Regions from separate parts of the Homo sapiens genome. Here region 2 is linked to region 1. The links are contacts of gene promoters, found by promoter capture Hi-C in blood cells and fetal thymus (Javierre and others, 2016). All regions are on one chromosome and are shown on one strand. Each heading gives the region's core, a stretch centred on a gene start or on the middle of the fragment in contact. The rest is flanking DNA. Distances are from core to core; before and after follow the strand shown.

Evidence for each region. The method cuts DNA at HindIII sites, captures the fragments that hold promoters and counts their contacts. A CHiCAGO score of 5 or more calls a contact.
Region 2: a fragment that was not itself captured here is called in contact with the fragment with the promoter of ING1 in region 1 in 1 of 17 cell types (neutrophils); the score reaches 7.1 in neutrophils.

The regions. Positions count from the first base shown.
Region 1 is chr13:110,708,431-110,714,949 of GRCh38, forward strand. ING1 (inhibitor of growth family member 1) reads left to right here and starts at 5,270. Exons shown (of 2, transcript NM_198219.3): 1 at 5,270-5,855. The coding sequence starts at 5,720. It also overlaps a transcript of CARS2 not described here. RefSeq lists enhancers at 3,697-3,786, 4,387-4,436 and silencers at 3,927-4,266, 3,940-4,108, 5,107-5,456, 5,467-5,656, 5,817-6,106 and 2 more. The HindIII fragment of the contact is 10,550 bases long and covers 1-6,519 here.
Region 2 is chr13:108,270,396-108,277,312 of GRCh38, forward strand. It overlaps TNFSF13B (TNF superfamily member 13b), which reads left to right. Exons shown (of 6, transcript NM_006573.5): 2 at 1-29. Among named protein-coding and RNA genes, the nearest start is that of TNFSF13B, 4.1 kb to the left of the region's middle. RefSeq lists an enhancer at 1-248 and a silencer at 149-228. The HindIII fragment of the contact is 2,403 bases long and covers 2,237-4,639 here.

The DNA.
Region 1 (6,519 bases), core at 4,020-6,519:
ATCTGCACATGAATCTGGACATGCGGTATATTTGAATTGTTCATAGAACATCACAACTTTTAAATTAACAATAGTATCTTCTGTCTTCAGAAAATTCATGTAATGTTTTTAGCCCCTCACTGGCAGTGATTCTATTATGTTTTCTTTTTTTTTTTTGAGGCAGTCTTGCTCTGTCACCCAGGCTGGAGTGCAGTGGCCTGATCTGGGTTCACTGCAGCCTCTGCCTCCTGGTTCAAGCAATCCTCCTGCTTCAGCCTCCACAGTAGCTGAGATTACAAGTGCACACCACCGTGCCCAGCTAATTTTTGCATTTTTATTTTTATTTTTATGTATTTATTTTTGAGACAGAGTCTCACTCTATCACCCAGGCTGGAGTGCAGTGGCACGATCTCGGCTCACTGCAACCTCCACCTCCCAGATTCAAGTGATTCTTCTGCCTCAGCCTCCCGAGTAGCTGGGATTACAGGTGCGTGCCACCACGCTCAGCTAATTTTTGTATTTTTAGTAGAGATGGGGTTTCATCATGTTGGCCAGGCTGGTCTGGGACTCTGGAACTCCTGACCTCAAGTGATCCAGCCACCTCAGCCTCCCAAAGCGGTGGGAATACCGGCCTAAGCCACCACACCTGGCCAATTCTCTTTTCTCTTTTTTCTTTTTTTTTTTTTTGAGATGGAGTTTCACTCTTGTTGCCCAGGCTGGAGTGCAATGGCGTGATCTCCTGGGTTCAAGCGATTCTCCTGCCTCTTTCTCACGTCTCCCGGGTTCAAGCAATTCTCCTGCTTGTCTCCTGAGTAGCTGGGATTACAGGCATGTGCCACCATGCCCAGCTAATTTTGTATTTTTAGTACAGATGGGGTTTCTCCATGTTAGTCAGGCTGGTCTTGAACTCCCGACCCCAGGTGATCCGCCCACCTCGGTCTCTGAAAGTGCTGGGATTACAGGCATGAGCCACCGTGCCCGGCAGCTAATTCTGTTTTCTTAAGGCTTTTGCGGATCATCAAAACAAGGAGAAACATAGCTCATTACCTAATGATGGTTAGAAATGTGATCTTTTTGCATATTGAATATCTGCAGGTTGAATATTAAGGTAAAGTAAAATAGACTGCTAATGCTCTTCATTACTATACCTCCCAGCCTACATCTTTCTCCTGTGCTGGGTGCTTCCTGCCCTCGAACATCAGACTCCAAGTTCTTCAGTTTTGGGACTCAGACTGGCTCTCCTTGCTCCTCAGCTTGCGGACAGTCTATTGTGGGACCTTGTGATTATGTAAGTTAGTACTTAATAAACATATATATGTATATACATTATATATATCTATATCTCCATCCTATTAGTTCTGTCCCTCTAGAGAACCCTGACTAATACACCATATATACATAAAAAGAGGATCCATTTAATTGAAGTCACCTCCCTCTCCAATCTAGGTCAGAACGAGGAAGTGTGTTAAAGTTAATGATTCCAAAATATCACTAATGCCATTTCTCAGTCCTTAATGACAACAATAACAAAATCAAGTTCTCAGTATTACATTTTCTTTCAAGGCAAAATCTTGTAAATCAGAAGTAGAGTTGATTACGGTAGCATATGGTTTAGGGGTTTTCAAGTTTAAGATGAATGAGTTTGCATTTATTTTTTAAGCACTTTGAAACTTAAACAATTCTATGCTTGGCCAGGCGCGGTGGTTCACGCCTGTAATCCCAGCACTTTGGGAGGCCAAGACAGGCGGATCACCTGAGGTCAGGAGTTCGAGACCAGCCTGGGCCAACATGACAAAACTCCGTCTCTACTAAAAATACAAAAATTAGTTGGGCATGGCGTCCGGCACCCGTAATCCCAGCTACTCAGGAGGCTGAGGCAGGAGAATCGCTTGAACCCGGGAGGCGGAGGTTGCAGTGAGCTGAGATCACGCCACTGCACTCCAGTCTGGGTGACAAGAGCAAGACTCCGTCTCAAAAAAAGAAAAAGAATTATATGTTCATCTCTTATATCTGACTCTCATAGGTTTGAGCATTTTCAGTTAGACTGGAAATATAATTTTAGAAAAAAGTTTAATTTTAAATGTTTCTTTTTAATCCATTTGAAATTTCTGTTCTACGGAAAAGTTTTAACATCCATTTTTGCAACACGCCACAGGAAACAAAACTGAAAGAGACAAGATTCTTCAACGTATCTTCAAAATTAAGCACCTTTCTTCAATGACATTTAAAATTCGTTATCAAAGGTAATTATGTTTTATTGCTTGATCTTCTAAGTTTGTTCCAAAAAAGATAAAATCTTTTTTGACTTTTTATCCCAAGGGGTGGGCTAAAAGTTTTATGGAATGTAAAGCTCCAAAAAACTTTTCACTACTGTATCCCCAGCGCACGGACCAGTAGTTGGCACATGGTAGACACTCGTCAATATTCCTTGTTGAATGCTTAAGATGCCTTTTTGGTTTATGTGTATGTGAAGAGAGTACATAACTAGAGGAACAAAATCATTACTCAGATTGTACTGTGTTGTGATTTTTTTTTTTAAAAAGAAAACCTAGGTTAAACTCCATCTTATCTTTGTAAAGGGTAAATTACTTCCAATTTTATTCTTGAGTTCAGATAAACACTATTCATTCTAGAGCCAATGAATGCTAGGAATAGAAGAACCGGTCTATTTCTTACTATTGTACTTTTAAATTACTTATATGCTTTTTGAGGGAAAGGCGTAATTTTCCTTATTCAACTTTGTACTCCCTCTATACTCTGTATTCGACATAATGTTTGTTTCCACATAATGTTATCTTGTCGTAGTCTTTTTTTCTCTTTTTTTCCGGAGATAGTCTTGCTCTGTCGCCCAGGCTGGAGTGCAGTGGCACAATCTCGGCTCACTGCAACCTCCCCTCCTAGGTTCAAGTGATTCTGTCTCAGCCTCCCCAATAGCTGGGACTACAGGCACGCGCCACCATGCCCTGCTAATTTTTTGTATTTTTAGTAGAGACAGGGTTTCACCATGTTGCCCAAGCTGGTCCCGAACTCCTGATCTCAGGCAATTCGCCCGCCTCGGCCTCCCAAAGTGGTAGGATTACAGGCGTGAGCCACCGCGTCCGGCCAAGTGTTATAGTCTTTTGTGCAGACCAAGTAGTGGCCAATAAATCTTGTAGAAACTAAAGTACTCATTTGCTTTTAACTAGGCCAAGACTAGAATAGCGTGATCTGTAAGTAAAATAACAGCCATTTCCCCAAATATCAAAGCCAAAGCTCTCCTGCTGTGTAGGTGAGATGAAGGGGCTTAAAAGTGAAGATTAAATCCACTTCAAAGTGTAAAGAGTATCCATCCATTTATCATTGCAGCAACGTTGCAACGTGAACAATCCGATTCCAAATACAAAACAGCTTAATTCAGTCTCTTTGCCGTACTCACATCCATAGCACAAAATACCCGGCAGGGCCCTGGAATGAGCACCACTGCGGTTAATAATCTACTCTATAAATACTGGACGAATCCAAATTTTTACTGGATTACACAGAATACGTTTTTAAAAAATCCAAAGAGTTTTAGATGTTACAACAGGGTTCCATCAAATACCACGTTTCCAAATCTTACCACCAGAATGTGTATCCATTTCAACTGCAATTATTTTGTGTCTAAAACTGTGTACTCTGCTTTGCAACAGGATAAACCCGGTGGATAAAAGCTGAAATCCGACCCTGTCCTAATTAAGAGGCTAAGAAAAATGGAGAACCGCGCTGGCGTGGAGTTGATACAGAAACACTGCAAGGGCTGGGGACAGGGCTTAGTTCGTGGAATACACAGGCAGCACCACCAACCCGGCTCTCCGGAAAAGAGAAAGTCCAGTGAGAAAGGTGAAAACTGACAAGGCACCGTTCTCCGACTTGCTGAAAAAAAGACAATGCAAATAGAGCAGGGTCCAAGGCGGAAGAAAATCAGAGAAAAGCAGGCAGCCAAGCGTGGCGAACACAGCTCTCGGGGCCACCCCGGAGGGGACCCGCGGCGGCCGCAGCGGGGCGGAGGCCGAAGCCGAGGCCGCCCCGGAACCAGAGAGCCAGGCGGGAAGTGCACAAAGGCACGAGGCCACGCCCAGGAGGGGCGGGCCCTTTGGCCGGAAGGGGGGGGGCCGGCGCGCGGGGCCGGTCGCCTAGGCAACGGGCTCGCGTGGCGTCCAGGCTTCTCAGAAAGCCCAAAATCCGGGAGCTTTGGGAGGGTAGAGGGGCGACGCGGGGGAGGGCGGTCCGGGGAGCTGAATGGCCTCAGGACGCCGGCCGACCGGGTGTCTGCATACTGTGGGCGGCCTTTCCAAGTGTGGGGAGCGGCCTCCGAGAACGGTGTCCATGACACAGGGCGGGAAGAGATAAGGCCTAGGGAAGGCGCCCCTCGGGCCTATCCACCTCTTCTGGGGCTCGGCACTAGGAAGCAGCTTCCCTCTCAGGCCCCTTTGTCTCCAAGCCGTTCCAAACTGAGTACCGGGAGACGACACAAAGGGAGGGCGGTGACGGATGGCGCAGGCGCGGGAGCCGCCTAGGCTGCTGGGAGTGGTGGTCCGGCCGCGGAATGGGTAGGTCTCCCGCGCACTCTGCGGCCGCAGCTCAAAGGACACCGAGAGGGTGCCAGTGCGCATGCGCCGCCACTTCCGCCCGTGCCCGGCCCTCCCCTTCCTTCCGCCTCCCGGAGGACTTGGGTTTCTAGTAGTAAGAGTCCGGGGGGCATTACTCACGGTCTCCCCGCCTCCTCTTCATCGTGATTGGGCTGTCAAAGTGATGTTGGCAAGTAGATTGGCTACTGCGGTTGCCAGTTCTGTTTCGGGCCCTACTTATACTGCTCTGTGGGGCGGGGACGAAGAGTCAGGGGCTGAGGAGCGAGTTGCGGTAGTTGCTGTGTACCATGGTCTCGGAGGTTTCTGTCCCGCGGCCCGTTAGGTCCTGGTCGGGTTTTCAGCGAAGCAGGCCGCTCCCCTGCGTTTCCCAGCGGGCGTGCTGTGCCGCCCAACAGGCTCTGCCTCCAAGTGCCAAAAACTCCTAGTAAAGTTTGCGCCTCGCCCGCCGTCCACACCCCAGCGGCCCTGACGCTGTCCCCTCCGCGACCCTCGCCTCTGGAAAAAGTGACAGGCAAGGCCACGCCCCCGCGAGGGCCGGCCTGGAGCCCGCAGCCCCCAGGGCCTGGGACGGTGAGGGGCGTGAATGCGGCGGGGGGCGGGGCCGTTGCCGGGGGAGGGGGCCGGGGCGCATGCGCGCTGCGCAGCGGGGCTGAATGTTTCCCAAGTGTTTGAAACTGGTATTTGGGTTTTCCACGTTGGACAAGTGCGGCTCGGCGGCCAGCGGAGCGCGCCCCTTCCCGCTGCCCGCTCCGCTCCTCTCTTCTACCCAGCCCAGTGGGCGAGTGGGCAGCGGCGGCCGCGGCGCTGGGCCCTCTCCCGCCGGTGTGTGCGCGCTCGTACGCGCGGCCCCCGGCGCCAGCCCCGCCGCCTGAGAGGGGGCCTGCGCCGCCGGCCGGGGCGTGCGCCCGGGAGCCACCGCCACCGCGGCCCGCGCCCTCAGGCGCTGGGGTCCCCGCGGACCCGGAGGCGGCGGACGGGCTCGGCAGATGTAGCCGCCGGGCCGAAGCAGGAGCCGGCGGGGGGGCGCCGGGAGAGCGAGGGCTTTGCATTTTGCAGTGCTATTTTTTGAGGGGGGCGGGGGGTGGAGGAAGCGGAAAGCCGCGCCGAGTCGCCGGGGACCTCCGGGGTGAACCATGTTGAGTCCTGCCAACGGGGAGCAGCTCCACCTGGTGAACTATGTGGAGGACTACCTGGACTCCATCGAGTCCCTGCCTTTCGACTTGCAGAGAAATGTCTCGCTGATGCGGGAGATCGACGCGAAATACCAAGGTACGGCCGGGTGATGGATGGGCGGGGGCGGCCGCCTCCTTCCCGGCGGGTCCGGGCGCGCCGCGGAGCCGGGCCGGTCCTGCCGTGGACCGGAGGAAGCGGCCGGCTCCGCAGCGGCGGCCCTCGGCAGGGGCAGGAACAAAAGGTCTGGAGCGCCTTTGATTCGCCAAGGTCCTTGTGTGCAAAGCCCGGGACACGGAGGAGGAAGGAGGCGCGAGAGGTCTCGCTGCAAGGCTGCGCGACCAAAGCGCTCTTTGTAGTGAAGTGATGAGGCGGGTGCTGCGGGGGAGGGGGCGGCGGGTCCAAGCCGCGTCCTCTAGGAGGGGGTGCAGATTACGGCGCGAGATGGAGGGATGTGCCGGCGCCTGGGGCTATAGGGCGCCGAGACGGGGCTGCAGGAGGAGGGCGGCTGTGGGCCGGGGTTCCCGCGGACCCGGTGCCTCGGTCCCGGGCAACGCCGTTCCTCTGGCCCTTCTTCGTCGCCCCCCACTCAGTCCCGAATCTGAGTGTTACATAAAGTACCGGGTAGTACTCCGCTCGGGGTAGGTCGGCCGCCCCCGCCCAGCCCCCTCCGGCCCTCACTTGGAGCTGGACACCGAGTAGGGGCCGACTGCGAGGGGCGACGCCGCCGGTTGTAGTTTGCGGAGGACGAGGGCTTTTCTCT
Region 2 (6,917 bases), core at 2,188-4,687, 2.4 Mb before region 1:
GCGTGCCGTTCAGGGTCCAGAAGAAACAGGTATGTTTTGGGCACAGACACTTTTAGGAGTCAGGGATTAGAGAATAACATCCAGTCTGGGGGAGCTGGAGGTGAGTATCCCCTCTATGAACCTATTAAATAGAGACTATGAAATTTGCCATCCAAAGCAGACATTGCTTTAGAGCAAAGCCCCAGCGCTGGCAAATGTAACAGGCTGCATGGGTGTGCTTTTTCCTCCAATGAGCAGATCGTGTGACTGGAAGCATTTCTCTGTGCGTGTGTAAGTATTTATCTGTGCATTAAGCATAGAGGAGATAAAAGGGCCATATGTGTTTCCTCAGGTAGATAATGCCCTCCCATGTGAGAAGCATTATTCATCACTCCAGAAAAATAAAAAAAAGCATTACATGTTAGAATTAGACTTTGCTTACTACCTGGGTCATAGAAAGTTAAAGACATCTGTTTTCTGAATGTACATTACATGTTGTGAAACCAGGTGAAGGTTGTAATGAAAGGCCCTGTATGTTGTACTTTAATTTTGTTTATTTGTTAAAAAGGTTATTTTACACACACACACACACACACGCACAGACACACACACAGATTTTAAAGCTTCTCTTTAAGGTACGCTTTTCCAGGGGATCCATGCATTTATCGTCTTCTTATAATCGTCCTTTACTGATTTCTGACTTTCTTCATGTTCTGCTCATTCCACGGAACTTTACAGAGTTGGTGGGGCCTACCAAAATGATCGATTCTAGTTCTTTCATTTGAAGGTGAAAAAAAGAATCTTTGTATACATTTATTAAAGTTATAATATAACAAATTCTTAATATTATTGTCCTTTTATTAAATATATTGAAAGAATATTTTTTGAGCACCTGGAACGTATCGTACAGCTATAGACCAGAATAGGCATTTTCAAACATACTATTTCGTTTAACCTTCACAGTGACGCTATGAAGTCCACAGAATACATGCAATAATTTATGTATATTTTCACTTCTGAAGAGAATTGCATAAGAAATGTAGTGAGAGATAGACCAGGGACCCTTCTATCACACACACACACACACACACACACACACACACACACACACACACGCATGAGGTACCCTGACTATAAACTTATTTTTTGACTATATGCTTTATTCATAAAAAATTGTTTCTTATTTTATAAAACCATAATTTTTGGTATCTGGTTATTGTATCTTTATACTAGTTATCAGGAATAACTGGGCTTAAACATTTTTAAATTAGGAAACATGCACATTTTTATTATTTTAACACATCAATTATTTTTATCGTCTGCATTTTATAGTCTATATTTCCTACATAATTGAAAATAATACGGAATATATACTATAATATTTTTTGTTTTGACTTATACAATAAGGATTTTTCCTATTTCTAAGTATTTTTCATATATCTGTATTAATTTATCTAACAATTGTTTTAAATGGTTATTTCCATTCTCTTTGCTATAATACAACATGCAAAAGTTTTGCACAGAACTCTTTTATTTCTGTGAAATTATATATTCAATATAAAATTCATATAGTGGAATATCTGAGCTAGGGAGAAGAAACATCTTCATCACCCTTGCTTCCGACTGCCATATTGTTTTCAAAATGAGTTATACATGCAATCAAAAATGTGGTGTACCGGTTCTCCACATTCTTGCTTGCATGTTATTTTTAAAGTGTATTTTGACTAGTTTAGTAGTTGTAAAACAATATCTCACATTTATTTTGATGTGTTGCTTGTTTACTAATATGAATAAACTTTCTGCATATTTTGATTATTTATAATTTTATCTTTTGCTAATTTTTATTTATAACTGTCTCCACTTGTCTGTCCCATGTTTTTATAATTTTGGATAAGCTCTTCCTAATTAGACATATTGATAATTGATCAAAATTTTGATGTAAATATTTTAACAGTTTTGCTTCTTTTTTTACTTGAACATTTTGCATTTCTCTATAGTAAAGTGATAATCTTTAAAAAATTTTCCCTAATATTAAAGCTAAAAATACATTTGTTCATGTTTTCTTAAGTAGTTGACTCCCTGCCACTTTGACTTTTTCATAGTTGAGTGTTTTGTTTTAACTCATTAGTCCTTCTGTTGTTTATTTTGATGAATCATCTCACATTGGCTTTAACTTCCCCCTCTCTCTTTTTTCCTTTCTAACTGGTATCTCAACCAAATGTATTAAATAGTTCTTTTTAACTCCTTGGTGTTGAAAAGCTTACTGTGTTTTATTAAGTTCCTCATAAGAGTTGAATCTATTTGAGACTCTTTTTTTTAATTGATTATTCTATTTATATGCTTTAAAGAATATTTTTAAGGTAATTTGTATTATAAGAGGCTTCAATAACTAGTAGGGTCAGGATCCTTCAATCTCCTTAACCTTCACTGCTAATATCCCCGTTTCTAAATATTAGTTTTAAAAATAAACTTTAACTTTACAATTAAAAAAAAAGATGTAGACTCATTTCAGCAGATTTAAGAAGAAAAGAATAATAGAGTAGGAAAGAAATAACTTCTTGGGTCACATTTTCCCAAAATTCTCCTATTAATACTTTTATGTATTTGTGTTTTAATGGCATCCAGGAATAGTATACTGATGAGAATCTTTCACCAAATAATTTGCAATTTGTAGATTCTAACAAAGTGAAAAAAAATTTGCCCAGATTTCCACAGCCCAGAAGTAGCTACTATTATTATTTCATGGTTTGCCCTAGACTTTTTAATAAACCTTAATACAGTGTGCATATAGGTATATATTGCACACAGTTGAGCCTTGAACAACACAAGTTTTAACAGCATGGATACACTTACAGGTGGATTTTTTTTTTCAATAAACCTATTGGAAAATTATCTGTAGATTTGTGATAATTTGAAAAAACTCATGGAAGAACTGTGTATCTTTGAAATGTTGAAAATATTAAGATTAATTAGCCATGTCATGAATGTATAAAATATATGTAGATACTGGTCTATTTTCTTATTACTATCATAAAATATACACAAAAGTTAAAAATTCTCAAAACATATGCATACAAACAGACTGTACATAGCGCCCTTTGTAGTCTAGAGAAATGGAAACAAACATAAACATGCAGTATTAAGTCATCACTGCATAAAATTAACTGTGGTACATACTGTACTACTGTAATAATTTCATAGCCACCTCCTGTTGCTACTGCAGTGAGCTCAAGTGCTGTGAGTATCTGCTTAAAACACCATGTGATGCTAATCATCTCTGCATGAGCCAGTTGTATCTCCAATCAGTTGGATATTGCAGTAAAAATGATTTCTCATGATTTGTGTGTATTTTTCTTCTTGTGTAATGCAATATCATAAACCTTGAATAACACCATGAGACCTATAGAAAATGCGATAGTGATGCTGGAAATGCTCCCAGGAAGCAAAGAAGAGTCATGACATTATAGTTGACCCTTGAACAACACAGGTTTGAACCGCGAGGGTCCCCTTGTATGTGGATTTTCTTCCACTTTCCACCCTTGAGATAGCAAGACCAACGCCTCCTTTCCCTCCTCCCCCTTAGCTTACTCAATGTGAAGAATGAAGAACTCTATAATGATCCACTTCCACTTAATGAATAGTAAATGCATTTTCTCTTCCTTATGATTTTTTAAAATAACATTTTCTTTTCTCTAGCTTATTTTATTGTAAGAATACACTACATAATACATATAATTTATGAAATGCGTATTGATTGAGTTTTTGTTATCAGAAAGGCTTCTGGTCAACAGTGGGCTGTTAGTAATTAAGATTTGGGAGTCAAAAGTTAAGCACAAAGTTTTGACTGCATGGGGTCAGTGACCCTAATTCCTGTGTTGTTCAAGGATCAACTGTATTTGTTCATATACATATGAACAATACATATGAACAATACATATATGAACAAATACATATATTTATACAAATATATGTACAAATATATACACATACAAATATATATATATATACATATATATACATACATAGTGTGCATATGTGTTATGTGTATATATTCAAATAGGACATAGTATACACACTCATAACTTTCACAAATCCAAGGTGGAAGATTTGAAGATAAGAATCTTAATGACATCATGTCTACTATTCCTTGTTAATAAAATTAGGAAATTCATTTGAATGTTGTTCTAGATACTATTCTTTGGTGGAGGGAAAGTTTATTTTATTTAGCATACTCCAAAATTAATGTTTATATTCCCAAAAAAGTTGTCTGTAACACAAGGACGTTTTTTAGTAGGAATTTTTTGGCATTGAGAAAATTCTATGCAGCTTTCTTTGATTTTTGTTTTCATTCAAGTTCTGATTTATTTTCAGTAAGACTCAAAACCTTAAGTTGTCCTTTTTACTTTTAAAGTGTTTATTTATGTTCATATTTATTAATTGTCTACATGTTTTAGAACCAAGTATTTTTATTGGAACTTCACACAAACTGTAGAAGAAGGGAGGGGAATTACCATCAGCCAACATGTCCCAATGATACTCTCTTCCAGGCATCCCATGGGTAAACAGTGGTTTTACTTAATGTTTTAATTTTAGAATTTAGTACTTTGGCTTTAGTTTTGTTTTTCTTAATTACTTTGTGTTTCAAACCAAAATCTCATTAAGCTTAATGTATTTCATAATATCATTTTTGATTGTAGTATAATAAACAGAAATGTGGGGAAATCCAGGATTAAAAAATTGCCAAATAGCTCATATTAGCCAAAAATTCACTTTTAAGCCCGTAACTGTGTTTGGAGATATTCCCAATTTAAAAATTAACTAAAACAATATGGCTTTGAAAATATTACGTAATAAAATTTATTTACAAATGGAATCATGAAGATCCACATTTTGAACATCACTTAACTATAATTTTATTAATTTTAAGAACCTAAAGATGAATGTCTTTAGAGTCTATCAAGAAAGTGAATTCTTTCAAATGGGTATCACTGACCTAAAAAGGTTCATTGTTAAAATTAGGTAACCATTGTATTTTCTTTCCTGTTAATTAATAACTATTAGAAATTTATGTGTTTTAGGATACAGAAAGACAAAATTATTTTTATTGATAATGTTTATTATAATTGTCTCAATTTTAATAATAAAATAATAGTAAAAATATGGACAATTCAAAGTAATGTAAAGCAAGAATAGAAAAAATTGTCCGTATTTCACCTTCCAAATAATTATCATGAGATTTTTGGTCAATCTACTTTAAGGTATATTTTTCTTCATTTTTAAGTGAGCTTGGGATTGTTTAAGAATTACACACAGCTTGCAAAGAATACAGTGTGTTGGCATGTACCCCTATCCAGCTTCCCTAATACTAACATCTTATATGAACATGGTATTTCATTACAAAAAGGAAACCAACATTAAGACTTAACTATTAGCTAAATTCTAGACTTAATTTGAATTTCACGAGTTTTTCTACTAATGATTTTATGTTTTAGGATCCATCAGGATATCACATTGTATTTAACATTTTTTAAATTAAAATTTTGAATGTAGCATATATAAACACCAAATATTATACCTTAAGTTTTCTATCGGATAAACCTTTCTAATTGCTAAAAGTGAAGATATCAATACTATTTTTGAGTCTTCTTTTTTGAAATCCAAAGTCCAACTCCTTTGCAAGGAAAGATGAGATGTTTGACAAGTCTGTAATGTCCAGTCTTTGCCCGGTTGGCATTTCTGGCTTAGCTGTGAGTTCCAGGCTGTAACATGAGTGTTGGAAGCGTGCAATGTAGAACTTGACCATCCAGCCCTTATCAAAATTAGGCTGACTTGAGCCTCTTACCCAGCAAGGGTGTGTTCCTTCGTGGAACAGAACCAGCTGGCTGCTGCTTAGGCGATCTTTGACCAGAGCTTTCCCTGAGAGTTATTTTTTCTTTCCCCCTGCTTCAATAGTGAGACTTTTCTTCAGTGTTGCAAGAACTGGCTTCTGTTCAACTTCTGGAAAAGCATTTAAAATTGAAAACGTTGACCTTCCAACCAAATCTTTGACCTGTTCTTGTTAAGCTTGAGATTTTGGGAAACGGAAGAGCTAGGAAACAAATCAGTCAACACAGCCAAATGTGATATTGTGTCTCTTTTACACAATCTTACATTATCGTGAGTTGAAGAGAAACAGAAAAATGATAGTACATATAGTTAATTAGCAAATTAAAATACAAAAAAATGGTAAATATGTTGAAAAAGTGAAAAGGTTAGGGCAGGTGAATGAGTATCAGGAATGTGAAGGGTGAGGAAGGGAAAGAAATGCGTTTTCATTTTGAATGGAGAGGCCAGGTTCATTAAGCCTTTTTATCTTTTCTTGAAAGCTCAATAATTCTTTATACTTTTGACTATTTTTTTTAACATTGCAGACATGGGTAGGTGATTTTTAAAATAAATTCAAAATGTTTATACCTGTGTTGTTTTTATTAGTAATTCCATATGAATGGAAAATGTTAGTTTTAATGCTTATTCTTTTTATAGATCAACTCCTACTTAAAAGAACTGCATTGAGCAGCTGCATTTTTGTTGTGGTGATATTTTTTTTTTAAAAGACATTCCCATTTCTGAAGAGTTAGAGAAACAGAAGGTTTCTCTTCAAATAGATTTATCACCCACTGTTTCTGCAAATATCTGAGGTAGGCACTCCATAATATACAGAGAAGAGGACAGCGAAGCTAACAATTATCAGGCGTGTTTCATGTGCAAACACTGTGTTGGGCTCTGGGAATGTATATCATTTACTTTCTCAACAACTCTGTTAGTTGGGCATTATTGTTTTCATTTTAGATGAGAAAGCTGCAACCCAGAGAATCAATTGCCTCTCTCAGCAAGCTAATTATTTAATAGTTGGAGAAGTTAAGCCAAATTGATGCAAAATTTAAAAGAACAATAAAATA